Linked DNA regions of Homo sapiens: regions 1, 2, 4, 5 and 6 are each linked to region 3. Evidence: promoter capture Hi-C in 16 types of primary human blood cells and fetal thymus (Javierre and others, 2016). All regions are on one chromosome and are shown on one strand. Each heading gives the region's core, a stretch centred on a gene start or on the middle of the fragment in contact. The rest is flanking DNA. Distances are from core to core; before and after follow the strand shown. Region 1 overlaps ADK (adenosine kinase). Region 2 overlaps ADK (adenosine kinase). Region 3 holds the start of SAMD8 (sterile alpha motif domain containing 8). Region 4 overlaps ADK (adenosine kinase). Region 5 overlaps ADK (adenosine kinase). Region 6 overlaps ADK (adenosine kinase).

What was found. The method cuts DNA at HindIII sites, captures the fragments that hold promoters and counts their contacts. A CHiCAGO score of 5 or more calls a contact.
Region 1: a fragment that was not itself captured here is called in contact with the fragment with the promoter of SAMD8 in region 3 in 6 of 17 cell types (naive CD8 T cells, neutrophils, fetal thymus and 3 more); the score reaches 7.0 in naive CD8 T cells.
Region 2: a contact is called between a fragment that was not itself captured here and the fragment with the promoter of SAMD8 in region 3, in 15 of 17 cell types (naive CD8 T cells, monocytes, total CD4 T cells and 12 more). The highest score is 17.9, in naive CD8 T cells.
Region 4: a fragment that was not itself captured here is called in contact with the fragment with the promoter of SAMD8 in region 3 in 2 of 17 cell types (naive CD8 T cells and total CD4 T cells); the score reaches 8.2 in naive CD8 T cells.
Region 5: a contact is called between a fragment that was not itself captured here and the fragment with the promoter of SAMD8 in region 3, in 1 of 17 cell types (M0 macrophages). The highest score is 5.1, in M0 macrophages.
Region 6: a contact is called between a fragment that was not itself captured here and the fragment with the promoter of SAMD8 in region 3, in 1 of 17 cell types (total CD4 T cells). The highest score is 6.9, in total CD4 T cells.

What each region holds. Positions count from the first base shown.
Region 1 is chr10:74,288,255-74,292,496 of GRCh38, forward strand. The region is part of intron 3 of ADK (adenosine kinase); the gene reads left to right. Among named protein-coding and RNA genes, the nearest start is that of ADK, 140 kb to the left of the region's middle. The HindIII fragment of the contact is 8,920 bases long and covers 1-4,242 here.
Region 2 is chr10:74,269,526-74,274,445 of GRCh38, forward strand. All of the region lies in intron 3 of ADK (adenosine kinase), which reads left to right. Among named protein-coding and RNA genes, the nearest start is that of ADK, 120 kb to the left of the region's middle. The HindIII fragment of the contact is 7,286 bases long and covers 1-4,920 here.
Region 3 is chr10:75,108,560-75,113,215 of GRCh38, forward strand. It overlaps SAMD8 (sterile alpha motif domain containing 8), which reads left to right and starts at 3,097. Exons shown (of 6, transcript NM_001174156.2): 1 at 3,097-3,163. DUSP13A (dual specificity phosphatase 13A) reads right to left here and starts at 598. Exons shown (of 3, transcript NM_001007271.3): 1 at 450-598. The coding sequence starts at 598. It also overlaps a transcript of DUSP13B not described here. RefSeq lists enhancers at 1,907-2,856, 2,857-3,805 and a silencer at 2,844-3,183. The HindIII fragment of the contact is 16,308 bases long and covers 1-4,656 here.
Region 4 is chr10:74,314,523-74,318,799 of GRCh38, forward strand. ADK (adenosine kinase) reads left to right here. Exons shown (of 11, transcript NM_006721.4): 4 at 145-223. Among named protein-coding and RNA genes, the nearest start is that of ADK, 170 kb to the left of the region's middle. The HindIII fragment of the contact is 2,056 bases long and covers 410-2,465 here.
Region 5 is chr10:74,381,846-74,386,635 of GRCh38, forward strand. All of the region lies in intron 4 of ADK (adenosine kinase), which reads left to right. Among named protein-coding and RNA genes, the nearest start is that of ADK-AS1, 150 kb to the right of the region's middle. RefSeq lists an enhancer at 2,764-2,843. The HindIII fragment of the contact is 1,124 bases long and covers 1,174-2,297 here.
Region 6 is chr10:74,411,711-74,416,004 of GRCh38, forward strand. The region is part of intron 6 of ADK (adenosine kinase); the gene reads left to right. Among named protein-coding and RNA genes, the nearest start is that of ADK-AS1, 120 kb to the right of the region's middle. The HindIII fragment of the contact is 310 bases long and covers 1,555-1,864 here.

The DNA.
Region 1 (4,242 bases), core at 107-2,606, 820 kb before region 3:
TGACTCAGAAAATGTATGAAGATGAGACAAGGTAGTTGCCTATTGGAATCTTAAATGATACTTTTAGTAGAGATCATGTAAATCTGTGTTGATGTTAAAGAAAAGTGAACATAGGCTGAGCGCAGTGGCTCATGCCTGTAATCCCAGCACTTCGGGAGGCTGAGGCAGGCGGATCAGCTGAGATCAGGAGTTCGAGACCAGCCTGGCCAACATAGCGAAACCCCATCTCTACCAAAAATACAAAAATTAGCCAGGCGTGGTGGCGGGCACCTATAATCCCAGCTACTCTGGAGGCTGAGGCAGGAGAATAGCTTGAACCCGGGAGGTGGAGATTGTAGTGAGCCGAGATCACACCACTGCACTCCAGCCTGGGTGACAAGAGCGAGACTCCATCTCAAAAAGAAAAGTGAACATAAACTTTTAAAACTTCATTACAGAGTAAAAAGTCTTATTACGTTTTTCTGGCCAAAATTTATAAACTTTTAAAATATTTCAGTGAAGTTGAGCTATATTAGAGGTATCTCTTTATGTACCTCTGGAATGGAACTTTGATAACTGTTTATTACAGTAGAAAATAGGATCTAAAATGGGTAAGTTCATTATTTCACTTTGCTTTCTTAATATTCATGGAAGGTATTTTGCCGAAATTATTTTTGGAGAGTATATGAAAAGTAAGTAATATTTTATAAAACTGTATTGCAGCTGATTTGGAGAATGAGTGGCTACTTTGAAAATTGTCAGTAGATAGGAAATAAAAATAACAGAATGAAGCAGCTCACACACTTCAGAGTTTATTCTCAATATTGTTGAATTGGGCCATAATGAAGCATAATGCCTGGTTAAACTTTATTGCAATTCAAACATCCCACCAGAAAGAAATTTTTAAAAACTATATCAACAAATAAATTCACTGAAGTCTGTCTATAGCTTCTTCTAGGAACTACAATTTATTTATTTGTTTATTTTAATATTGTTTTTTGTAGAGACAAGGTCTCACTTTGTTGCCCAGGCTGGTCTTGAACTCCTGGGCTCAAGTGATCAGCCCGCCTCTGAAAGTGCTGGGATTACAGGCATGAGCCACCGTACCTGGCTGAAGGAACTACATTTTTGATATGGTACTCTGCTTTAAACGCAGTAGGTACTCTGCTGAATTGGGCTAAATAAACATTTCACCTCTCAAAACTATGTGAATATTTGGCTTAAGCAAAGATAGCCTGGGACCATGAAGAAAGCTAAAACACTTAAAAAAAATGTACCCTTATTTAAAAAGTAGCATGTTTCTTTCTGATTTGGAGTGTTATGTTTTTGTTGAAAAATTGGAAATTACATAAAACCAAAATGAAAAATATAGAGATGATCAGTAATTTCACCATGAATATAATACTCCTCTTATCATTTTGTATTCCCTTCCAACTAATTTTTCTCTTAAAAGTGGCACTATGTTTTTGAAAAAGCTGACTACTTTAAGAAAATTTCTCTCAGTTTACTTTCTTAATCGTGTGCTTTTCTGAAGAGTTGGCTCTGACGTTGACTACTATAGTAAATCCAATTTTGATGAGTTTTTCTTTTTTAGTGGGCCAAAAAAAAAAAAAGGAAAGAAAATTCTCCTTTGTAGAAAAAGGAGGGAGGATGGAATGTATATTGTAGTACACCTGAAAATCCATACCTTTTCTTAGCCATATACACAATTAGTTTACTCTTTCTCAAGATAATATTTTTATAGTAAATTAGGATTCTTTGTTACAAGTGATGGGAAACCAAACTAGTGCTATGCTAGGTTAAAAAAAGGAATTTAGGGACTCAAGTCACTAAACTACTCACGCGCACACACACACACACACACACACTCACACACACTCACATAGGGGTTCAATTGGGCCTTAGGAATGGCTAAATCTAAGGTCTCAAAAGCTGTCAGTTTTTTTCCTTCGGTTCGTTCTTTGTCTCTGAGAGTTAGCTTCACTTTGTCAGCCTGCTTCTTTATACTCTTCCTGTTTTTCACTCTGACTTACTGTGTTTATAATTATCTTGGGTTAGTTTTTCTTATTGCTCATTTGGAAAAACTATCAGTACTTCTGATTAGTAATTTCAGATGTTTTTATATTTTAATTTTGTATGCAAAATAAGTATCCGTGATATTTTAAAAATATTTACTAAGTATTTCCCTAGTCTTTCTCTAAAGGGTAATCTCAAATGAAACAACTGGAACTGGATTCTCATTTGTTTAATGACTGAAGAAGTCTTCCAATTACTCTACAAACCATTGATAACTTTTGTTATTTGTGACCAGTATTCATCTAGTAAGATGTTAAATGCTTTTATGAAAGAGACAAGTGTTTTACCTAAAGAATGAGAAAAAAAAAACCCTAATTTTTTGTGAAGTTTTCTCCTTTTTTGCTGAGTGCTTAAAGAAAAAAAGTTTATGTTGTTTTAGGTTTTTCTTCTTGCTTATCACCCTAGGAACTAATTGTGTTACTTTTTAAATGTTTAAATTTAATTTTTCCTGTCCCTTCCCCATGCTTGCTAATTATGTTTTTTAAAGGTGACCCTTTAAGATGGCTCTTATAGAATAAAGAGAGACACTGAATTTTCTAATCTTGTGGAAGAGGTTATATTTAGCCATTGGTATTTTAAGTTGGAGCACTTCATTCTACTGTGCCTTTAGTTTATGAGTCATCTGGAGAAAATGGGCTGCTTCTTGCTTTTAGGAAGAGTCTGTAGCAAATAATAATAATAAGTGCTATGGGAGATTTTTTGCCAAATAATTTAAAATGGAAAATGTTTTGTAATATATTTTATTGCCCATATGTAAAATACGTACTAAAGAATATAGGAGTTTTTGGCTCATTATTATCTTTAGCTCATAAAAATAAACAAAAGAGGCTGGGTGCGGTGGCTCACGCCTGTAATCCAGCACTTTGGGAGGCTGAGGTGGGCGGATCACGAGGTCAGGAAATCAAGACCATCCTGGCTAACACGGTGAAACCCTGTCTCTAATAAAAAATACAAAAAATTAGCCGGGTGTGGTGGCAGGCACCTGTAGTCCCAGCTACTCGGGAGGCTGAGGCAGGAGAATGGCGTGAACCCAGGAGGTGGAGCTTGCAGTGAGCTGAGACCGCACCATTGCACTCCAGCCTGGGTGACAGAGTGAGACTCCGTCTCAAAAACAACAACAACAACAACAACAATAACAACAAAACCCTAATGTCACATATAACAAAAAGAAAGCATTTTCTACCAAAACATTATATAGATTGTTATGAGTTATAGGTAAGTGGAAAGCAAGCATAAACCATATGAAATTATTTTATATGCAGGATGTACAGCAGTGGTCAAATCTTAATGATAATTGTCAGTAACTGGGGAGAATATTGTGATTATTGAAGTATTGATTTTTTTTCAAATATTTTTATATTACATGTGGTAACTTTTTATAATCTTGTTTTATATCTACTTTAGTATGATAGCTTTACCATACTAGATATTCTATGAGGGGTAGACAGTTGGCAAAGGATGTGATATTGATTCTAATTTTGGCTACCTTTGTATTATGTGTATCATAATGATTTCACGCTTCAGTTTTCTCATCTGTACAGTATTTTGTTCTTCGTGACTTTTCTTGCAGGAATGAAAGGAGGTAGCATGGAACAAAGAAAAAAGTGTATCATATTGTAAAACAGGAAATTTTAAAGTCCTAGAGTTCAGATTTTAAATCCAAGATGTCATTTTTGAGGTAAATTTGTCAGGTCTCCCTGGGACACAGAATGACTGCATCACTAGAATCATGAGCCCGTGGGATTGTTTTTTTCTTTTTCTCAAATGTATTTATTTAACATCTCTCTCCCTCTCTACTTACCTACCTGCCTACCTACCTACTTACCTCTGTTGTGAAACTTTTGGGAGCTCAGTATTGTCTACTATACCAAGAATACCAGTCCTTTACTCATTTTTTTGCATTACAAAGATCATATGGAATATACTGGAGGGGAATTTAGGTCTTTTGGTTCTGTGTTAGAAGAGCCCATTTTGTTTTTCCCTGCATGTGGTAGTCGGTGTATAGGCCTGTTTCTGTGATGGGAAGATGACACCTTTTGTCAAATCTCTATCCTTTTTGTATGTCAAGGAATCATTTCTTTGCAGTGAAGTAGAGTGTGCCCTGTAGTATAGCACTCTGTGTCCTTAGTCATAGCAATATTGGAGGATTGGAGAGTTAATCATGTTTGAGAAGTTAGGGGACTTGTT
Region 2 (4,920 bases), core at 525-3,024, 840 kb before region 3:
GCTGGTCATTTTATGGTTGGTTATTGTGTTTATTATTCTGTACTATGTTTGTTGTATTTGTGCTTTAGTTGCTATTTATTTTTAAGAATATTGTGTTATATAGGTGTAAAAGTGATAAGAATGTGCCAGGTATGGTGGCTCACTGTAATCCCAGCACTTTGGGAGGCCAAGGCAGGCAGATCACTTGAGCTCAGGAGTTCAAGTATATCTTTTGTAATCCCAGCACTTTGGGAGGCTAAGGCAGGTGGATCACTTGAGCTCAGGAGTTCAAGACCAGCCTGGCCAACATGGGGAAACCCTGTGTCTACTAAAAATACAAAAAATTAGCTGGGCGTGGTGGCACGTGCCAGTAGTCCCAGCTACTCGGGAGGCTGAGGCAGGAGAATCGCTTGAACCCAGGAGGTGGAAATTGCAGTGAGCCAAGGTCATGCCACTCCACTCCAGCCTGGGCAACACAGCCAGACTTCATTTCAAAAAAATAAATAAATAAATAAAAGTGATAAGAATGTGACATGTTAATAGGGAGAGATATTAGTCCGATGGTAATTAAAAGCAGAGAAAGTTTTAAATAAACTAAATGGTGAAGAATTGGTTTGTTCAACAATAGGAGTTATTTTGAAGAATAAAGCAAGTGATTAAACATGTGAAAAGTAATGTGCCTATGCCCCAAAGTGCTATTGCTTAGTGGGTTATATCTATTGATAATTACAATATTAGAAATTAAAATGGAAACGGTTGAAAATATTCAATACATTTAAAGATAACTGTAATAAACCCAGTATTTGCTAGCATAAACACATTTTTCTGGAAAATAATGATATTTTCTAAACCAGAAAAAAATAGTTAAAAGAATGGTATTGCTTTTTGCAAATCTCTTTAATGTCTGACTTAGTAGAAGACAGCTGGATTTTCATCTGCTTCTGCCTGCCATCTGTTGTAATATATTGAACTGATCCAGAACTCCTGGTCTCAAGCCATTGTTCCACCTCGGCCTCCCAAAGAGCTAGGATTACAGGTGTGAGCCACTGCACCCAGCAAAGCAAATAGTTTTAACCTTGTTGGTTCCCTGAAAAGATTTTGTGGGACCCTTGTAGTCCTTAGACTATGCTTTGAGAACTGCTGGCCTTAGCAATTGAACGTAAGTACAGTAGGAGACATTGGTAGAAATGCTTTTGAATTTACAGTAGAGTCTGGGCATCAATATTAGATGTCTATTGATCTTTTATTAAAAGACTAAGAGTTTGAGAATTTAAAGGCTAAAACATTATAGGTCCTGCTGATCAGACTTTTCATAGCCAGATAGTTCTGTAGGCTTAAGGCCCTTTAAATCCAGATAATGTCCAAGTAAGTGGCAAGGCAGCAATTTGGATTCCATAGCTGCTAAAAAGTTTTTTACGGCATTTGTACATAGATCATTAAGAAGAGAGGAATTATTTCTCACAACCAATTTTTAGTGTAGACAAAACTGGAATATTTTGGAGAAAAATGTCTTAATAGAATGCATATAGCGGTAATGTAGTCTTCTATTTGGCAGGAATATATATAGGGATGGTCACTTTAGATTAAAGAACAAATAAAACTTAACCTACTTATAAACAGAGGCTTCTGTATTGAGAATTTTTCTTAGTATAACATATATTCACCTTAGTATCAAGTTGTGGGGGTTTTTGATACCCCCAAATTGACAGTTATTCAGCTGAAACTTGGAGATAGGACAGACCTTGATTAATATTTGGCAATAATTGTCAGTTCTAATGTTGGAATTTTTGCTCTAACCTTGTTGATTAAGCATTTAACTTATTTACATTTTTATGCTTAGGGATTAAAAGTATGTCTACTTTACATTTATATTCAGGTATATATATATTTTTGTTGTTGTTGTTGTTTTTTCTTATTATTATTATACTTTAAGTTTTAGGGTACATGTGCACAATGTGCGGGTTAGTTACACATGTATACATGTGCCATGCTGGTGTGCTGCACCCATTAACTCATCATTTAGCATTAGTATATCTCCTAATGACTATCCCTCCCCCCTCCCCCCACCCCACAACAGTCCCCAGAGTGTGATGTTCCCCTTCCTGTGTCCATGTGTTCTCATTGTTCAATTCCCATCTATGAGTGAGAACATGCGGTGTTTGGTTTTTTGTCCTTGTGATAGTTTACTGAGAATGATGATTTCCAATTTCATCCATGTCCCTATAAAGGACATGAACTCATCATTTTTTATGGCTGCATAGTATATATTCAGGTATATTTTAAGGCAGTTTTTAAGTATATCTTTTTTCTTTAATAGTACTTACAAAAATGTAATTATTTGATATGACAAAGCTGCTTCATATTTTCATATTAGCTTGAACTTTCCATTGATATGTCAAGCAAATAAATACTTAGTTTTTTTCTGAGTAGAAACCAACTGTACTGCAAACCCCATTGATAGTAAATTAATTGCAGGGATTTAACATGTAGGGAAACCTTAATTATTCTGAATATACTTATGTTATGATGTGTAGATGATTTGTTTACTGTCTTTAATGTGACTGAGTCAAAATATGTGTAGTTATTTGCATAAAAGGGAAGTGTTGCTAATATATTTTGCATTACTTAATGTTATATATAAAATTAATTTTCCTTGTAAGGGATGTGAGAAATTTTTTTACTCCTCATTTCTGTTTATTCTCATCTATTTCTTTGAAAATGTAGATTTAATTTATTTAAATACTGTGTGATGAAAACATTACAGATATGTTCTTGCTCTCTTTTTTTTTTTGAGACAGGGTCTCACTCTGTCATCTAGGCTGAGTGCAGTGGCATAATCATGGCTCCCTGCATGTCAACCTCCTGGGCTCAGGCAGTCCTCCCACCTCAGCTTCCTGAGTGTTTGGGACTACAGGCGCGCACTACCATGCCGGGTTAACTTTTGACTTTTTGTAGAGATGGGGTCTCACTATGTTGCCCAGGCTGGTCTCAAACTCCTGGATGCAAGCAATCCTCCTGCCTCAGCCTCCCAAAGTTCTGGGATTACAGGCATGAGCCACCACAGCCAATATGCTTCATTTTCTACCTCTGATTATAAATTAAAGGATAGTATTATAAATGCTTAATTTTATAACCTCCAAATAGTGATATTGTATTGCTCCTTATTGTGATGGATAAATTATAAGACATATGTGTTTAACTGGTTTGGTGGCAAGTCTGTTTACAGAAATTTGCTGTTAATTTCTCAGTTGTTCACATGAACTTATCTGATTTATAGCTTTGGCCAGCAATTTACAAAGAAAGTTCAGTCTGTAGGGCTTCCTGTTGCTCTGAGTGGGGGCTCCTTCTACCCCTGTTCAACTTCAGTCAGCCCATGGTCTATAGTATACCTCTCACAAGGTCCTTATACTGCAGATCCTCTCTGCTGCAGATGCTTGGGCTTTTGCCTTAAGCACACTGGTGTAATTAGAAGAAGTAGAAAAGAAGAGAAAGGGTGAATAATAAGAGATGAGAGGATTTAAAAATGGTTGAAACAGGAGTTGTGAAGTTTGAGTGTGGTGGATATGGAGATGTGCAGCCCTGATCCTCCTTCAAGGAAGAATTGTGGCCCAGTTGTGGGGAGGTCAGTCATCAGAAAACCTTCAGCTGTCTGGCCTACAGAGGACAGCCAGAAAAAAAAAAAAAATTGCCTTAAGCTGTCAGCTCCTTCAGGCTCTACCTCAGTTGCGGAGAGCCTCCTTGCTTAAGGTCACATCCTTTCCAGGGCAGCACTTATCCTGCAATCAAGCAAGACATGTTTAAAGGCCCAGCCATTTTGTTCAGGCCTGAGACAACTCTGACAGGTGATATACCACCAGAGATCTGCCAGGTTGCTTGAGGCTTTGTTGGGCCTGAATTGCAATTTGATTTTTCCCTCTGCCCAATTCGGCTTTCTTCCCCAAATCTCTTCTTCTTCTTTTTTTTTTTCTTTGAGATGAAGTCTTGCTCTTGTTCCCCAGGCTGGAGTGTGATGGCATGATCTTGGCTCACTGCAACCTCTGCCTCCCAAGTTCAAGCAATTCTCCTGCCTTGGTCCCCTGAGTAGCTGGGATTACAGGTGGGTGCTACCACCCCTGGCTAATTTTTGTATTTTTAGTAGAGATGAGGTTTCACCATGTTGGCCAGGCTGGTCTCGAACTCCTGACCTCAGGTGATCCACCCGCCTCGGCCTCCCAAAGTGCTGGGATTACAGGCGTGAGCCACTGCGCCCGGCCTCTCCCCGAATTTCTTTCACAGGGATTGACTGCTAATAAACATCATATACCCAAAACTACTTCAGTGTCCATTTTCAGAGAATCCAGCTTGCAACAGGCAGGCGTATCGGCTTCATGTTGTCCTAAACCTTACGTAAAGTTCTATGCAATTTTTTTTGTGAATTTGCATTTTTCTTAGGAGGTCTGTGGCTTCCATTATCTTCTTTAAGATAGACTTGAAAATTAAAGGTTTTTCTCATCAAGGACTTAAGAAGGAAAGGCTTAAACATTTTTTTTTTGACTCAAGATCAAACTAAATACACTTGGCCATTGAACAATATGGGGGTTAGTAGTGCTGACCCTTTGCACAGTTGAAAATTGACATACGACTTTTTACTCTCCCAAAACTTAACTATTAATAATCTACTGTGTACCAGAAGTCCTACCAGTAACATAGTCTATAAACACATATTTTGTATATGTATTAAACACTGTATTCTTACAATAAAGCTAGAGAAAACAAAGTGTTATTAAGAAAATCATGGCCGGGCGTGGTAGCTCACACCTGTAATCCCAGCACTTTGGGAGGCCGAGGTGGGTGGATCACCTGAGGTCAGGAGTTTGAGGCCAGCCTGGCCAACATGGTAAAACCCTGTCTCTACTAAAAATACAAAAATTAGCTCGTGGTGGTGGCAGGCGCCTGTAATTC
Region 3 (4,656 bases), core at 1,847-4,346:
GCTACCACCTCATACCTGCTTCTAACCTACAAATGTTTAGAGGCAACACCTTCTCTGATTCACCTTCAGTCAGGCTTCTCCACCGTCTGTATCCAGAGGAGGGAGGCTGGGCCCAGAAACAGGGGGCTCTCTGTCTACCTTATCTCATGCCCCAAATACTATTTCCTGGGCCTCTGCCTCTACACTTGACAGTTGTCCTGGAAATGTTTCCTGGAACTCCTGGGAGACTCCCTGCTTTCAGGCAGGCGAAGTCCCTGCTCTCCCTGGTGGCCATACCTGGTCACTGCACTGACCTCAGCACCCCCGGGGGTCCTGGAGAAGGTCCCTGGCCTGGGATGGTCAGAGCAGAGCTATTTCTCCTTGTTTCCACCCTCCTGTGTCTGGTAAAGCGACCAAGAACTGCCTCTCCACGTCCCCACCCCCATGCCCCTTGGCCAGCTACCACTCACGCATCTCCTATGAAAAGGTTGGGCCAAACTTCGTCCACACGGCTGCAAGAAGACTTCCCTGCCCGCAGGAGCTCCTCCAGCTCCAGGATGCTGGGGCAAGGCGTGGCTTTGTCCTCTCCCCCCAGCTCTGGGAGAGAGGTCTCAGCCATGGGCCAGCCCGCCCACCCCTCTGCCTCTGTGGTCACTCCTCTCTGCCTCTCCAGTGTCATTTCTCCTTCCCAGAGATTGACAGGGACAGGTGACAGAAGCAAGTGACTCAGCAAGTCACAGGGGCCTCTGGAGTGGACAAGACCTTTTCCTCCCCAAGCCTCCCCCCACCCCCAAACTCCATGAGAACACAGAATCAGAGAGACCTCTGCAAGTCAGCTACCACCCTGAACCTCAGTTTCTTCATCTGTAAAGTAAGGATAATCACACCTACCTCAGAGAATTTGAGGATTAGATGAAACAAAGGACATGCTGGGTCTGACACATAGTAGGTGCTTAGAAACATCTGTGGAATTAGTAGATGTAGAGCCCTGCCTAAGGCTATTAGGTTCTGAGGACTGAGTTAAAGTAGAGATCCAGGGTGCAGAGGAGGTGGCTGGTTCCAAGGATGAATGATAGAAAGAACTGAAAGAAGTGTACAGTCTAGGTGGGCCACAAATTGGGCAGGAGCTGGATTGGATGTCTGTTGGATGAGTCTCTGAATTACGGAGGTCAGGGACAGTTTTCTGAGTTGTAGAGTCAGAGAAATATGGGTAAGAGACATGGAGAGCTTCCTTTAAAGGGTGCCCACAAGATTCATGGGGGGAGGGGGAAGGTGTTTTTTTTTGTTTTGTTTTGTTTAGACAGGGTCTCACTCTGTCACCCAGGCTGGAGTGCAGTGGCATCATCTTGGCTCACTGCCACTACCACCTCCCAGGTTCAAGTGATTCTCCTGCTTTAGCTTCCTGAGTAGCTAGGATTACAGGCATGTGCCACCATGCCACACTAATTTTTGTGTTTTTAGTAGAGATGGGGTTTTGCCATGTTGGTCTGACTGGTCTTGAACTCCTACCTCAAGTGATCAGCCTGCCTCGGCCTCCCAAAGTACTGGGATTACAGGTGTGAGCCGCCGTGCCGGGCCAATGGGGCAAGGTTTGAACAATGGTCCTGTAGTGAAGATGGCTAACTTCTCAGAAGAGAAGGCTGAAGAGGGCCTTGTATGTCAAATGGGGAGACGGGAGGTGAGTGTTGCCCTAGACTTTGAGAGCCAAAGGGGCTAACTGTCATCAGAAACAGTGGGAGGGAGATTCCTCTGCCTATAAGGGCTTTGGGTCCCAAAATAGAAACTGAGAAAGGTCAACCTGTCCTTCTGCCAGAGCTGGTTATCAGCAAGAGAGATGAGATGTCTCACCCTCTCTCATGTGACTTCTCAGTGGCCCTAATGGAGCTGGGAAGGGTATGAGCTGCAGTGGGGAGGTTCCCAGCTGCCCTTGGCCTTAAGACCAGTTTGAAGGGAAAGGCCACACCAGGGCATCCCATGGAAGCAGTCTACACTCATGTCTATCCCATTCAGAACCATTGAAGTCGGCCCGGCACTGTGTGGGGAGGCAAGACCAAGGAGGGGCTCGTGTCCAGGTTACAGCTGGGTTTGGACTTGGTTTATGCCAATGCTAGACCTGGCTTGGGAGGAGACCTTCCCTCAGGGTGGTGCAGCATGGTGGAGTGAGGAAAATACAGGATCTGATGTTAGAGAGATTTGGGTTGGAATATCAGTTTGCAATATGTCAGGCAGTATGTTTCTTTACTTTTCTGTGCTATAGGATCCCCCTTGCAGAATTAGCACTAGGATTTTTTTTTTGAGATGGAGTTTGCTCTTGTCGCCCAGGCTGGAGTGCCATGGCGTGATCTCGGCTCATTGCAACCTCCATTTCCCGGGTTCAAGCGATTCTCCTGCCTCAGCCTCCCGAGTAGCTGGGATTACAGGTATGCACCACCACGCCCGGCTAATTTTTGTATTTTTAGTACAGACGAGGTTTCCCCATGCTGGCCAGGCTGGTCTCGAACTCCTGACCTCAGGTGATCCCGCCTCAGCCTCCCAAAGTGCTGGGATTACAGACGTGAGCCTCCGCTCCCGGCCTTAGCACAAGGATTAAATGAGATGTTTATATGGCGTTTGGCATAGACACTGTCAAAGAGTAAATGGGCAATAAATTATAACAATGATCATTGGGGGCTGGCTATTGGAGAAGAGCTGGCTCTCTCCAGAGGAATTCGGATTACCTCCTTCTAGGCCCTAACCCCATTTACTGATCCCACAGGCCCCGCCCCGGCTCCGCTAGCCCCGCTTCCTCCTGTCGCTTTGGCCTCCGGCATGACGCATGCGCCCTCGGGCTCCTCCGCGGCAGCATCTCGGTTCTCCTCTCGGGCCCATCTGGAGCCTCGCGTCTTTTCCAGTGTGGGCCCCGCCCCCTGCCGGTAGAACCCCGTCCCCGGCCGGTAGGGCCCCGCCTCCCGAAGCAGTTCCGGTTCGGCTCCGAGCAGCTGCCGGCGCGGCGGTGACGGCGGCCGGGACGATGCCTGCGCGCAGTCGCCACCGCCCCCGCCTCCACTCCGGCTCCCCGCCCCGGGCTCCGCCCCCGCCGCTTGAGGCGCTTCACTCCGGCGAGGCGGGGAGGGCCCCGGACTCCGACGGCGGCTCGGACGCCGACTCGGAGGTGGGTCCGGGGAGCCCGACTCGGACCGCGGAGGTGAGCGGGAGCTGAGGCTGAGGAGAGGGGAGCTTGGGGGGCGCCTGCTGCCAAGGGTGAGTGGGGAGTCTGGGATGGAGCCGGGGGCTGCCGAGGGACCGCGACCTGGAGGGGCCCCGGGGAGACGGTTGAGGGAACCGGGATAGTCAGCTCTGGAATGGAATCTGAAGCAAATGGAGGTTGTCGAACTGAGGGCCTGAAGGCTGAGGGATAAGTGGAGGCCGAGGAACGAGAGGGAGAGAGCGAGAGGGGGAGGCTTGAAGAGCCCAGAGCTTGGGGGCTTTTGAAAGCTGCGCAGTGGGGGAAAAAGATCGAAGGTCCTGCGGGAATGTGGACCCGGAAGAAGAGATGCTCTGGGTTTGGCAGCGGGGATGAGGAGTCAGAGGAGCAAGACCTGGGCCGGTGTTCCCTTCCCAGGGCGAGGGAGGGCGATCGGGGCTGGGACTGGAGCCCTCTCATGGGGTTCTCCTCTTACGGAGCCCTCTTATCCGCCTCCCACCCCGGGTGGGGCTGGTGGTGATGGAGGGCAGGATTTAGGTTTGACTAGAAGGAGGAGGGCTGTTGGATGGGAAATCGTCTGGCCTCAAGGGGTGAGGGAGGCACTGAAAAAGAGAAGTGTGGTCAAGAAAGAAAAGGAGCCCTTGGGGATCTAATTTTGGGCTTTGGCATTTTTACAGGTGCCTTTTAAAACATCAAAGATCACTAGGGCAATGTACTTGGATCGTGGGGCTTTCTCGTTCGTGCACAGTGGATCATTTTAAGAATCTTGGGTGGAAGGGGCGGTGTGAATCACTGATTTGCCTAAAGGACTGGGGGAAGTAGTGGAGAGGAAGTGATGTTTGAAGAAGGTAGTGGAAGACGTGATTCTGAAAATGAAGATATCATTTGGATTTATTGACAGTAATGGTGTCCTTTTTTTCATTGTAATTTTTTCGTAGCTAAGTTTAAATACCAGACATGTTAAGATCCTAAAAATTTACTATATTACCTTTAAGTTTTAAAAACTTGAAACAAGACTTTGGATACTCAGATTTTAAAAATTAAACTTGAAACAAGAATTTGGACACTTGGATTTTACAGATACTCAACATGGACTGGTTCCACTTTCAAAGTTTTAAGTTGACACATGTATTTGCCACATAGTAAATGTATGGTCAATGCAAGTTTCTGGGTGAAGGGGGCACAGTGAACTTGCCACAGTCTAGGCGCAATACCAAATCTTCCTCTCACTGATAACCCCAGGATTGGACTTATCTCTTGAAAATTGGAGAGGTACCTTTGACTGATTGGCAAAACCAATATTGAAATACTATTTTGCAGGTATTGTGTGAATAGTATTTTTAGTAGAGTGATTTGGAAAAATAAGGACAGAGGATGCTTGTAGTTGGCAGCCAACACAACTGGGACAGGTGGGTATACAGATGCTTTTTATAGAAGACATAGTTCCAAAACATAATTATGCCAGAAAAAGAATGATTGCAATATTTATATTC
Region 4 (4,277 bases), core at 188-2,687, 800 kb before region 3:
GATATTTCAATTCATTTATTCAACATACTTAAACAATAAAAACATTTTACTATTTGTGTTTTAATACTCTTCTGCTCAGAAAAGTTTACTTTGTTGCAACTCACAGAAGGTAACTTACTTTTTTCTACTGTGATTTCCTTATAGGTTTGATGAACTTGTGAAAAAATTCAAAGTCGAATATCATGCTGGTGGCTCTACCCAGAATTCAATTAAAGTGGCTCAGGTTGGTTAATTATTTTAAAAGTTAAAAGGATTCAAAATGATTCTAGACCCATGTCTATTTTGCATAATTGTTTCCTTTTATATTGTGTTGCTGTAGAATAGTTTTGTTCATTTGAATTGGGATTTTAGTAGTCATTGCACATCTAATCAAAAGTTATTTTAATTGGTATTTCTTTGGTTATTGGTAAGCTTGAACTTTTAATGTTTATTGTTCATTTGTGTTTCTTCTTAAATTGTTTCCTTTCACTATCATTTTATAATTTTTCATGTTACAGATTTGTAGAAACTTCATATTTTATAGATAGTATTCCTTTTTATTTTATAAGTTGAAAGTATTTATTTTTTGTTATGTGTACATTAACTCTTACAGTGTCTTTTACTGTGCCTTAGTTCTTAATGTAACTTTCAAAGTTTTTAACGTAATTAAACTTTATGGCTTCTTCATTTCCTGCATGTCCCCCTTACGAAGGACGTTTCTGCCACAAGATAGTAGAAATTGCTCTGTATTATATATAGATATCTATATACATAAATGTACATTCATATATTCATACCTAAATATCTATGTATAGACATATATGTTGGTAGATATGTATATGCATCTATATATCTATACCGGTGTATATCTTTTATAAATCTATATATCTGTCTCTATTCCCATATCTTCCAATGAGTAATTGAATAAACCCATTAGGCATATACTCTTTGAGTTACCAGCTTAACCTAATCTTGATTGAGAGAGTTAGTGATCTGTTTAATCTTCCAGCTTTGAAAGATATGAACAAGTTTTACATACCTCTGGTTCTTACCTCTGCAGTTTGAAGTTAACTCAAAATTCTGCTCATTGCAATCATGTGTCAGTTCTGCCTACACTAGATTTCTTTTTCTTTTTTATTGATTAATGCTTTCCCCTTGAATTCTGATTAACTTCAAGAACTGGGGAAGTGGAAAATTGACAAATAAAATCCAGAATGATTTCTTTTCAAGTAACTCTTAGTTGATTGAGACATATAGTATGATTATTCCACATACTTCCAAGCTCAGATTTAATCATAGTTTTCAAATATTTTGTAAAAATGAATCTTTAAGGCGGTCATTAATATGAAGTGGCCTGAGTCTTTGTATTGGTCAATTGATTTGTATTGTTTTTGGTAAAACATCCTGGTGGTCACTTTATGAACTTCCAGAGTAATAGAAAAAGGATGATTTACGGCCAGGCACGGTGGCTCACGCCTGTAATCCCAGCACTTTGGGAAGCCGAGGTGGACGGATCACTTGAGGTCAGGAGATCCAGATCAGCCTGGCCAACATGGTGAAACCCCGTCTCTCCTAAAAAAATACAAAAATTAGCCAGGTGTGGTGGCATATGTCTCTAATCCCAGCTACTTGGGAGGCTGAGGCCAGAGAATCGGTTGAACCTGGGCGGTATAGGTTGCAGTGAGCTGAGATCATGCCACTGCACTCCAGCCTGGGCAACAGAGTGAGACTCCATCTCAAAAAAAAAAAAGAGAGAAAAAAAGGATGATTTACTTAAGCCTTAATTTATCAAGGCACGTTTTGCATTTTGCAGTTTTCAGTCTTTTCTCCTGCTAGAACTGGGGGTGATATGGTTAGGCTTTGTGTCCCCACCCAAATCTAATCTTGAATTGTAATCTGTATAATCCCCACATGCCAAGGAAGAGACCAGGTGGAGGTAATTGAGTCATGGGTGCAGTTTCCTTCATGCTATTCTCCTGATAGTGAGTGAGTTCTCACAAGATCTGATGGCTTTATAAGGGGCTCTTACCCCTTTGCTCGGCATTTCCCATTCTTGCTGCCTTGTAAAGAAGATGCCTTTCTTCTCCTTTGCCTTCTGCCATGATTATAAGTTTTCAGAGGCCTTTCCAGACATGCTGAACTGTGAGTCAACTAAAACTTTTTTCTTTATAAATTACCCAGTCTCAGGCAGTTCTTTACAGTAGTGTGAAAATGAACTAATACCGGGAGGCTATTAGCTGTTCACTAATAAATTGTCTCCTTTCTTGGGGATCTTCATCAGTTTCTGCCTTCTAAAAGTTTATTAATTATATAATTAAGTTCTCCCTCAGCTTTCTCCCTGATATTAGTCTCATAATAAAACAGTCATTGCCTACTTTTATTCTTTTGCACTTTTTTTTTTACAATATTTCACATTCATTCTAACAACGTATTCTAGTAGTGGTTTATTTGTTCCTGTCTTTAGCAAGGTAATAAAAGGAATTTGAAGCTTTGGGTAACTTATTCTGTCAGATCTTACTAGTAATCATACTTTCATGTATCAAGTGATATGGCAAATTATGTCAACAAGAAAATGTCCCCAAAGCTCTTAGGTATTTTGATATGTCAAATCATGTTTTTGAAGATTTTAATGAAACCATAGGCAACAAAAACAAGTATGGTTGATATCTTGTCCAAACACAATTCTAGATTTATTTGATACACAGCACAAATGTAAATTTTGGTAAATTTCATTTGGTCTGAACTTCTTCCTAATGAAAGTGAAAAGTTCTTATCTGCTCAATATCCTGCACAGCATGTATATAACACTGCTAAAAAGGGGTATAACTTGCTTAAGTTTGATAATTGATGCTTTCTTAATGAACACTTTTGGTTACTTTGTCAGTTTTTAAAAAATTTGTAGAAGCACTTAATGTGAGTTTTGACTTGAAAGAAATGGAAAAACGTTGGCATTGTGACTCATGCCTGTAATCCCAGCATTTTGAGAGGCTAAGTTAGGAGAATCGCTTGAGTCCAGTAGTTTGAGACCAGCCTGGACAACATAGTGAGACCCTGTCTCTAGGAAAAAAAAAAAAAAAAAGAAATGGAAGAAAATGACTTCCTTGGATATGTGCCTAAAAGATGGCTATTATTGTTGCTGGACATAGATGCCCTGCAGTACAATATTAACAAAATATGGGACCAAAGGAATGCCCATCTCTGATTTGGCAGTACATTGAGAATGAGAATGGAAAAAGAAGATTATAGTAAAACAAATATTTTTATGCTGTTTCTGGTTTTTTTGTTTGTTTGTTTGTTTCAAGACGGAGTCTCACTCTGTTGCCAGGCTGGAGTGCAGTGGCGCGATCTCTGCTCACTGCAACCTCTGCCTCCCGGGTTCAAGTGATTCTTTTGCCTCAGCCTCCCAAGTAGCTGGGACTATAGGTGTATGCCACAAAGCCCAGCTAATTTTTGTATTTTTAGTAGAGATGGGGTTTCACCATGTTGGCCAGGATGGTCTTGATCTCTTGACCTTGTGATCCACCCGCCTCGGCTTCCCAAAGTGCTGGGATTACAGGCATGAGCCACCGTGCCTGGCCTGTTTCTGTTTTTGAAGAGGCCACAAGTGGGCTAGAAAAAACACATACCAAAAAAATACTCAAATAATTTTATTTGTTCATTATTTATTAATTTTTTTGAGACAGAATCTCTTGCTCTGTTGCCTAGACTGGAATGTAGTGGTGTGATCATAGCTCACTCCAGCCTTGAACTGCTGCGCTCACAGGGTCCTCCTTCCTCCATCTCCACCTCCATCTCCTAGGACTACAGGCACACCCTACCATACCTGGCTAATTTATTTGTTGTAGAGACAGGGTCTCTGTGTGTTGCTCAGATTGGTCTTGAACTTTTGGCCTCAAGTGATTCTCCTGTGTTGGCCTCCCAAAGTGCGAGGATTACAGGTGCGAACCATTTTACCTGGCTCAAATGGCTCATTTTTATATATTAAGAGTGCTTCAGAACTCAAGTAAAAAAGTCACAGAAAAGAGCAATGAGGTTAAATAAAACTTTTTTTCAGTTTCTTTACTAAAACTGTAACTTACTTGGAATCCAGTTTTGACATCAGAAATTCAAATTCAGGTGTTTTAAAACCATTTCTGCAAGAAAGAAATTTAAGTTAGGATGATAGCCAATGTCTTTCAGAGTGTTTTAAAGTGATGGACATTTTGAACATTGATAAGCCTATATAATGAATCTGTAAACACAAGGGATATGATTCATAAAGAGCTGGAATGCCAAAACCTGCATTTAGCTAAAAGATA
Region 5 (4,790 bases), core at 486-2,985, 730 kb before region 3:
CGTTTTTGATGTTGCTGCTGTTAAGTGTTGTTGGGCAGATGTTTACTGCCTTGAGGGATTTTGCTTTTTATAAAGTGTATACTAGAAAAAGTAAAGGAGAAGGATTTTCTCAATTCTTTTCTTATTCTTTGGTTATTAGTTGGCATGCTTCTCTGTGGATTTTGTAGAATTTCTGGGCAGATGCATTTGAGTGACATTCTTATGTCTAAAGATCACTGTGGTGTTTCTCTAAAGGTTTCTTCCTTTCCTCACCTTCCTTTTTCTTTTCTCGAGACATGGTCTCACTCTGTCACTCAGGCTGGAGTGCAAGTGATGTAATCTTGGCTCACTGCAGCCTCTACCTCCCAGGCTCAGGCGATCCTCTCACCTCAGCCTCCTGAGTAGCTAGAACTACAGGTGCACACCACCATGCCTGGCTAATTTTTGTATTTTTTCTAGAGATGGGGTTTTACCACATTGCCTAGGCTGGTCTCGAACTTCTGAGCTCAAGCCATCTGCCGGCCTCAGCCTCCCAAAATGCTGGGATTGCAGGTGTGAGCCACCGCACCTGGCCCTTTCTCACCGTTTTGTCCTGGTTTTAATTTACCACAATAAACTTCCTTGGTGGTTTTTCTTTCTTATTTTATATACAGCCTATTCTTTTGTTCTGATGAAAGTCACATTGAATTAAAACTTGACACCTATTGTAACACCATACCAGGTGCTGTGTTATTTTTTTATCCCTAGTTTTGGAGACCTTTGGAGATAAATCCATGCTATTTTGTAATCCATTTTTGTTAATCTTAAGAAATTGAGTGAAAGTTTCAGTAACACAATTTTTTTAAAATTATAAGATACAGTATTTTAAAATTTTGGTAAATAGCTTTGGATTAAATGAGTTTCTTGTTTAATTTGATGAATTTGACTCAGTTCTGTAACCTTTTTGCTCTTTTTCTTGAAAAGAAAAAGGCTTCCTCACTGGCTATATCTGGGTTCTGCCTACACTCTTCCCTCACTTCCCCTTGGTGTAGGTGGCCTAGACCGTGTTAGTCACCTAATGAAATCTGTGAATCCTCTCTTGAAAAACACAGCAAAGTTTCCTTACAATTTCAGGATGTTTATTGGATTTTCCCCCCCTCCTCTCACACATACCCTGCAATGATAGGGGCCCCTGGACTTCAAGCAGACTAACAAAGCTTAGAAAATAAGATTCATACTCCTTCTTAGTATTCTAGATATATAACAATTTGACTTAGAAGTAACAATAACAATAGTATTAGTGATACTGCTACAATAATTACAACAGTAATAATAATAATAATAATTAAAATTTACTTTCTGCCAACCTTATGCCAGATTCTATGCTGAACCTTTAACCTGTATTACTGGTTATATTGTTAATGATACCTCTAGATAGAGTATATGCAGCATACTTTTATTCTGTACTTTAGGAAATACTATATCTTTAGAATACAGATTTGAGTAAGAGATTATAAGCATTTTGATTCTAAGACTTTTTGGAATACTGAACTTTTAGTTTTCTGATTCCAGTAGTCAGTCTGTCTGTCTCTGTCTCTGTCTCTGTCTCTCTCTCTCTCTCTCTTTCTCGGCCTCTCTGCCATTCATCTTCTTCTGAAAATTAGCTATCCCACGTAAGCCTCATATATCCCCTAATTCCTATTTGTAGTTGTGAGGGAGGAAAAATATTTTCCTTCTAAGTTCTCTGCTGTAAGATTCTTGTAACAAAAGACAGATTAACAAAAGTTAAGTACACTAATTTATATTCTAAGTTTTATGTAACATAGAGGGAAATGAAGACTTGAAGAAACAATTAAACCTGGTGTTTTTACATTAGGTTTTATGAAGAGTGGAAGGGAAAGGCAATAGGACAAAAAGGGGTATGAACTAAGAGTAGTAAACTGAGGGGACCTTAGCAAGACCTGTTTGTTTAGATTCATCTCATGTCCTTACATCTTCTGAGATAAGGATGTTCTTTTTTTCTGCATATAGTAAACATCCTCTCACATGGATGGTCTTATGATTTGCTTCAGAGGAAATCAGAAAGTCCTTCCTGCACCTGCTGTTCTCAAATTCCTTCAGCTTAAAATTTTCAGTATGTCAAGTGCCATATTTTGGGGGTAGTGTGTCCTGATCTCCATCATAGTTAAGTGTCAGCTTGGACACAGTTTCTCATATTTATCTTAGGAAATCTTCTTTGGCCACTCTGCAAAGACTAAGGTGCTACTTGCATGTTCTGCAACAACTCCTATTATATATATATCATCTCTTAAAATAAATAGTAACATATCTTGTATGTAAGCTTTATGTACCCTTAAATTGTAAGTTTTAAGAAGATACAATCCTGGCTTTCCTGTTCACTTATTTGACAATTATTTAATTGCATAGAATGTAGCAGGCACTCTTCTAGATTTGGAAACACACCCTACAACTCTTTTAAAAAAGCCAAGAAAACAGTCTTGAACAGCAAATTACAATTAAGTGGAATTAATTCTATGATAGGAATGATACAGTTTGTTGCGGCAACATAAAATGCAGGCATATAGGCTGGGCACGGTTGCTCACACCTGTAATCCCAGCACTTTGGGAGGCCGAGGTGGATGGATCACTTGAGGTCAGGAGTTCAAGACCAGCCTGGCCAACATGGTGGAACCCCACCTCTATTAAAAATGCAAATATTAGCTGGGCATGGTGGCGTGCACCTGTAATCCCAGCTACTCAGGAGGCTGGGGTAGGAGAATTGCTCGAACCTGGAAGGCAGAGGTTTGCGGTGAGTCAAGATCGCACCACTGCTCTCCAGCCTGGGTGACAGAGCAAGACTCCGTCTCAAAAAAATAAAAAATAAATAACAATGGGTATATAGAACAGAATTTAGGACAACATTGTCTCAGTAAGTGAAACCTGAAACCTAAGTAGGAAGCTAGAAAGAACAAACAGAAACAGAATGAAGTATTCAGTGTACTGGAACATTGCATTCAAGAGTGTTAATGCTTAGGATTAACTTGGAGAGGAAGTTAATGGTTCAATCATAAAGTTGTTTATGTTGAACTTGCTTAAGATACTTGGGTAACGATTGAAGGACATTTTAGGAAGAGCACTCAAAATGCAGTGGATTGGAGAAAAACAGAACTAAAGGCAGGGAGATGATCTAAGAAGCTTTTGCAAATGGTTGCATGGTTGGGAGGATGGAGTGACAGAGAGAATGGGAAATGACATCCAATGGGTAGAGGTTTCTTTTTGAGATAATGAAAATGTGATGGTTGCACAGCTATGTGAATAAACAGGAAACAACTGAATTGTATATTTTAAAGTGGCAAATTGTATGGTTATATGAATATATCTCAATAAATTTTTTTAAAAGAGACTTTTATAGTAGTCTAATTGAGAGTAGATGGTGGCCTGTACTAAAGTGGTGTTAATAGAGGCAGGAGTAAAAGTGTGTCAATTTAATAGGCAAAATAGGGTTGAGTAGGTATTTGGATATTCAGAGCAGTCATTTGAAAACAAGTATAAGCTAAAAATGAGGGGGTCTCAGCATATAGATGATAATTGAAACCATGAGAGTAGATTAGATCATATCCAGAGAAAGTATATACGGTAAGAATTGTAGGTAACCTGGGAATCCAGGCCTGAGAAATGCTAAGGAATGGGGAGAAGGAAAGAAGCCTACAAAAGAGATAGAGAAGACTTCTTTATCCATTATTAATTACAATAATGTCCAACAAATAATAGGTGATCAACAAATATTGGTGGAATGAATTGAATGAATATACACTAAAAATTCTGCATTTTATCACAGTCTCAGGGCACTGTTGTCATCGTCAGCTGTACTCTGTAATAGGCACTGCCTTGAACACTTTGCTTACATTATCCTATTCAATCATCACAATAATTCCACAAGAAACATAGTCTCTGAAATAGTAGCTTGTTTACCATCACATGGCTGGATGAACTTATATATCTGAGTCTAAAGTTTATTTTTTCTACTAGGCCTAATATTCCCCGAATCTGTTCTGAGAATGTTAACAGATATTTACTAACAAAAATAACAATAGAACTATTTCAGGGAAAGAACAGGATTATTAGAAATTGATTTTTATTAATAGGATGCTTGCTGGCAGGGGCAATGGAGCAGTTTTTTAAGGAAAGAAGCATAACATACTAGTTATTCAGTTAGAATAGATTCTTAATATTTATGAAAATCTTGTGTTTTGCCCTGTCTCACTTGGTGGTATTGTAATCATCTGAGAATCTATCCTATAAGTTATGTGATATATGCTATTTTCCTTATCAATCTATTTCAGTTTTGATTTCCTCATCATCCTTTGCAGTCTGCTTGTTGCTGTTTCTCAGTTTTGACATTTAATTTCTTTTAGTTGTGCTTTACAGTTTTTCTGAGATGCCTCATTGAGTTTTCTGTATAAAATTTCATATCTTTGGCTTATCTTGCAACTCTTTTAGTACCTAGGTGTCATTCTTCATCATTCTATTATGAATTGAATTAAAGCATATGGCATTATTTCAGAAGTGACTGCCTCTTGGGCATCATTGTCAGTTATATTGTCCTAAATATTGCATTTAGGTAATAAAAAGGAAATCTTCCTTGAAGGTAAAGTTAATATTAATAGAAATCTTTCCATATGTTGTTAAAGACTCTTGTTATGAAGTTTAATATGCCATTTATTTAGGCCTTATTTAAATTCAGTTGTAAATTTTTTCCTTCTGGCTCCTTACCTTAGTGAACTGTCATCTCTTATCATCATACTCTTTGCTCGAAAACCTTCATGTGTTGC
Region 6 (4,294 bases), core at 460-2,959, 700 kb before region 3:
GAAGTTTGCCACATCAATTGACTCTTCTTTCATAAAAGATTTCTCTGTAGCATACAATGTTGTTTGATAGCATTTACCTACAGTAGAACTTCTTTGAAATTGGAGTCAGCCCTCTCTAACTCTGTTGTTGCTTTAACAGTTATGTTTATGCAGTATTCTGAATTTTTCGTTGTCATTTCAACAGCATTCATAGCGTGTTCACCAGGAGTAGATTCCATGTCAAGAAACCACTCTCTGTGTTCATCTATAAGAAGCAATTTCTCATCCATTCAAGTTTTATCATGTGATTGCAGCAATTCAGTCCTATCTTCAGGCTTCACTTCTAATACTAGTTCTCTTGCTATTTCCATCACATGTGCATTGACTTCTTCCACTGAAGTCTTGAAGCCCTCAAAGTCATCCATGAGGGTTGGAATCCACTTATTCCAAACTCCTATTAATGTTAATATTTTGACCACCTCACATGAATCGTGAATGTTCTTTTTTTTTTAAACAGGGTTTTACTCCTGTCACTCAGGCAGGGAAGTGCAGTAACAATCACTGCACATTGCAGTCTCAATCTCCCAGGCAAGCTCAAGCAATCCTCCCACCTCATCATTTATTTTATTTTTGTAGAGACGAGGTCTCACCATATTGGCCAGGCTGGTCTCGAACTGCTGGGCTTAAGTGATCCTCCCACTGCGGCCTCCCAAAGCGCTGGGATTGCAGGTGTGAGCCACCATGCCCAGCCCATGAATGTTCTTAATGACAACTGGAATGATGAATTATTTTCAGGAGGTTTTCAATTTACTCTGCCCAAACCCATCAGATGAGTCACTATGGCAGCTATAGCCTTATGAAATATATTACTTAAATAAGATTTGAAAGTCAAAATTACTCATTGATCCATGGGCTGCAGAATGAATGTTGTTTTAGCAGCCGTGAAAACAACATTCATCTTCTTATACGTCTCCATCAGAGCCCTTGGGTTACCAGATGCATTGTTAATGAGCAGTAATATTTTAAAGGGAATCTTTTTTTCTGAGCAGTAGATCTCAACAGTGGGCTTAAAATATTCAGTATACCAGCTGGGCACAGTGGCTTATGCCTGTAATCCCAGCACTTTAGGAGGCCAAGGCGGGAGGATCACCTGAGGTCAGGAATTCGAGACCAGCCTGGTCGACATGGTGAAACCACATCTCTACTAATAATACAAAAATGAGCTGGGCATGGTGGTGCACACCTGTAATCCCAGCTACTCAGGAGGCTGAAGCAGGAGAATTGCTTGAACCCTGGAGGCGGAGGTTGCGGTGAGCCAAGATTGCGCCATTGCACTCCAGCCTGGGTGACAAGAGTGAAACTGTCCCCAAAAAAAAAAAAATTCAGCATACCATACTCAAACAGGTATGTGTTCATCCAGGCTTTGTTATTTCATTTATAGAACACAGGCAGAGCAGATTTAACATAACTCTTAAGGGCTCTAGGATTTTTAGAATGGTAAATGAGCATTGACTTCAACTGAAAGTCACCAGCTGCATTAGCCCCTAAAAAAAAAAGAGTCGTCCTATCCTTTGAAGCTTCGAAGCCAAGCATTTACTTCTTTTTAGCTGTAAAAGTCTTCAATAGCATCTTCTGCCAGTAGAAGACTCTTTTGTCTATGTTGAAAACCTGTTGTTCAGTGCAGCCACCTTCATCAATGATGTTGGCAAGATCTGGGTAACTCTTCAGCACCTGCTATTTTACCTTGCACTTTTATGATATGGAGATTGCTTCTTTCTTTCAACCTCACAAATTAGCCTCTCTTAGCTTCAGACTTTTCTTGCACAGCATCCTCACCTCTCAGCTTTAACAGAATTGAAAAGAGTTAAGGTTGTGCTCGGGATTAAGCTTTGACCTAAGAGAATGCTATGCTGGTTTGATGTTCTATACAGACCAGTAAAACTTTCTCCATGTCAGCAATAAGCTTATTTCACTCTCTTATTCATGCGTTCACTGGAGTAGCACTTTTAATTTTCTTCAAGAACTTTTTCTTTGCATTGAGAACTTGCCTGTTTGTTGTGAGAGGTCAAACTTTCAGCCTGTCTCACCTTTCGATATGCCTTCCTCACTAAACTCAATCATTTCTAGCTTTTGACTTAAAGTGAGAGACATGCAACTCCTCCTTTCACTTGAACACTTAGAGACCACTGTAGGATTATTAATTGGCCTAATGTCACTATTGTTGTGTCTCAAGAAATAGGGAGGCCTTAGGAGAGGTAGAGAGATGGGGTAATGGCCAGCTGGTAGAGCAGTGAAAACACAGCATTTATCAGTTAAGTTCACCATCTTCTATGGGTGTGGTTTGTGGCATCCCAAAACAATTACAATAATAATATCATAGATCAGTGATCACTATAAAAGATATAAAAGTTTGAAATATTGAAAGAATTACCAAAATATGACAGAGATCCAAGCGAGCACATTCTGTTGGAAAATAATGACACCATACTCAAGGCAGGCTTGCCATAAACCTTCGATTTGTAAAAAAAAATAATAAAAAGGTATCTGTGAAGTGCAATAAAATAAGGTATGCTTATACCAAAACAGACTTAATTATGCTATTTCTTACCATTAGTGTTAGAGTTCAGTTTCTAATGTTTTTCATTTTCCATATGTTATTGATGTTCAGTGAGTTACACAAATTATTTACTGTTGTTACTTCCACCTTAGTAGGGAGAATCTTTGATTTTTGCTGGATAAATTTTCAAACAAGAGTGTGATTATAGGCTGGACGTGGTGGCTCACGCCTGTAATCCCAGCATTTTGGGAGGCCGAGGTGGGCAGATCACTTGAGGTCAGGAGTTGGAGACCAGCCTGGCCAACATGGTGAAACCCCCTCTCTACTAAAAATACAAAAATTAGCCGGGCGTGGTGGCGCATGCCTGTAATCCCAGCACTTGAGAAGCTGAGGCAGGAGAATGGCTTGAACCTGGGAGGCAGAGGTTGCACTCCTGCCTAGGTGACAGAGTGAGACTCCATCTCAAAAAAAAAGAAAAGAAAGAAAAGTGTGATTACAGAGATCCTATTTGTGTTTATTTTTAATTTCTCTAGAATTTGTTTTCTTCAATAAATAAAATTCTAATACCAGTTTTTTTTGAGTAACACTGTGATTTTTATACAGAAAGACTTTCTCCAAATTGGAGAATGTACTCTTTTATTCCTGTAATTTTTCTTAACTCTTATTTTTGGCAGCTACCAAAAGTAAAACTCTCTACCAAGACAGAGAAGAAATCTTTGGGAATATTAAGTAATGTTATTTTTCATTACACGGACTAACCTTTTTACTAAGAAGAATTGGGATAGTATTGGTTATGGGAGCTTAGGAGCCCTAAAGATAAAGATTGGAAGATTTTGTGTTGTGGACTTGTGGCACTGTAACAAAGTCTGGGAATTTTATGTGAGATTGGAAACCACACTATGTGCTAATTGCCTCAGAATGGTAAGAAAATAAGCATATGTATAGCATTTAGTTGTTAAGACAGTAGGCACTTATGCAGAGCCCCAAATGAATTAACAAATCATCTACTGAAATATTTTCACTTCTGTTTACTTTATGTATTTTAGACCAATCAGCAGTTGCTTGAGAAAATGAAATGTTTACTAAATCTCTTTAATAAACATGTTTAAGAGAGGAAAAACTTATAAACATTCAGATGGCAGTGTACATTTTTAAGTGCTAGTTGTCATATCTTTGAAATTGTATGTAAACTGGACATAAACAATCAAGTGTCTACAGAATGGTATCTGTCTTCCAATATATTTACTGAAGATATTATAGAATCTTTATAGTTTAATATGATTTACCCCACATGTTCTGTTGTTGCTATCTTTTCAGATAAAGTTGAATTTAATCTTTCTTATCAGCTTTTATTGAGGTATTTATGAACCATTGAGTTCACCCACTTAAAAAATATCATTCAGTGGCTGTTAGTGTATTTACAGAGTTCTGCTACCATCACTGTAATCTAATGTTAGAACATTCACATCACCACAGAAGGAAATGTTATACCCATCAGTAGTAATGCTCCATACCCCCTGGATTTAATCTTATATCCACATCTCTCATAATAGTTTCAGTGGTATCTAGTTATTATGACTACAAATGATGCAATTGTTCCTGATTACACAAATAATGTATTTATGTCTTTATTGTTGGCATGTAATGGAAGACATAATAAGTCTGCTTTGATCTCTTGCTCTTACCTATTTCTCTATTGCAAGTGTTATAAAGAGTCTTTTAAGCTTTTGCTCATATATATAAATATATATATACATA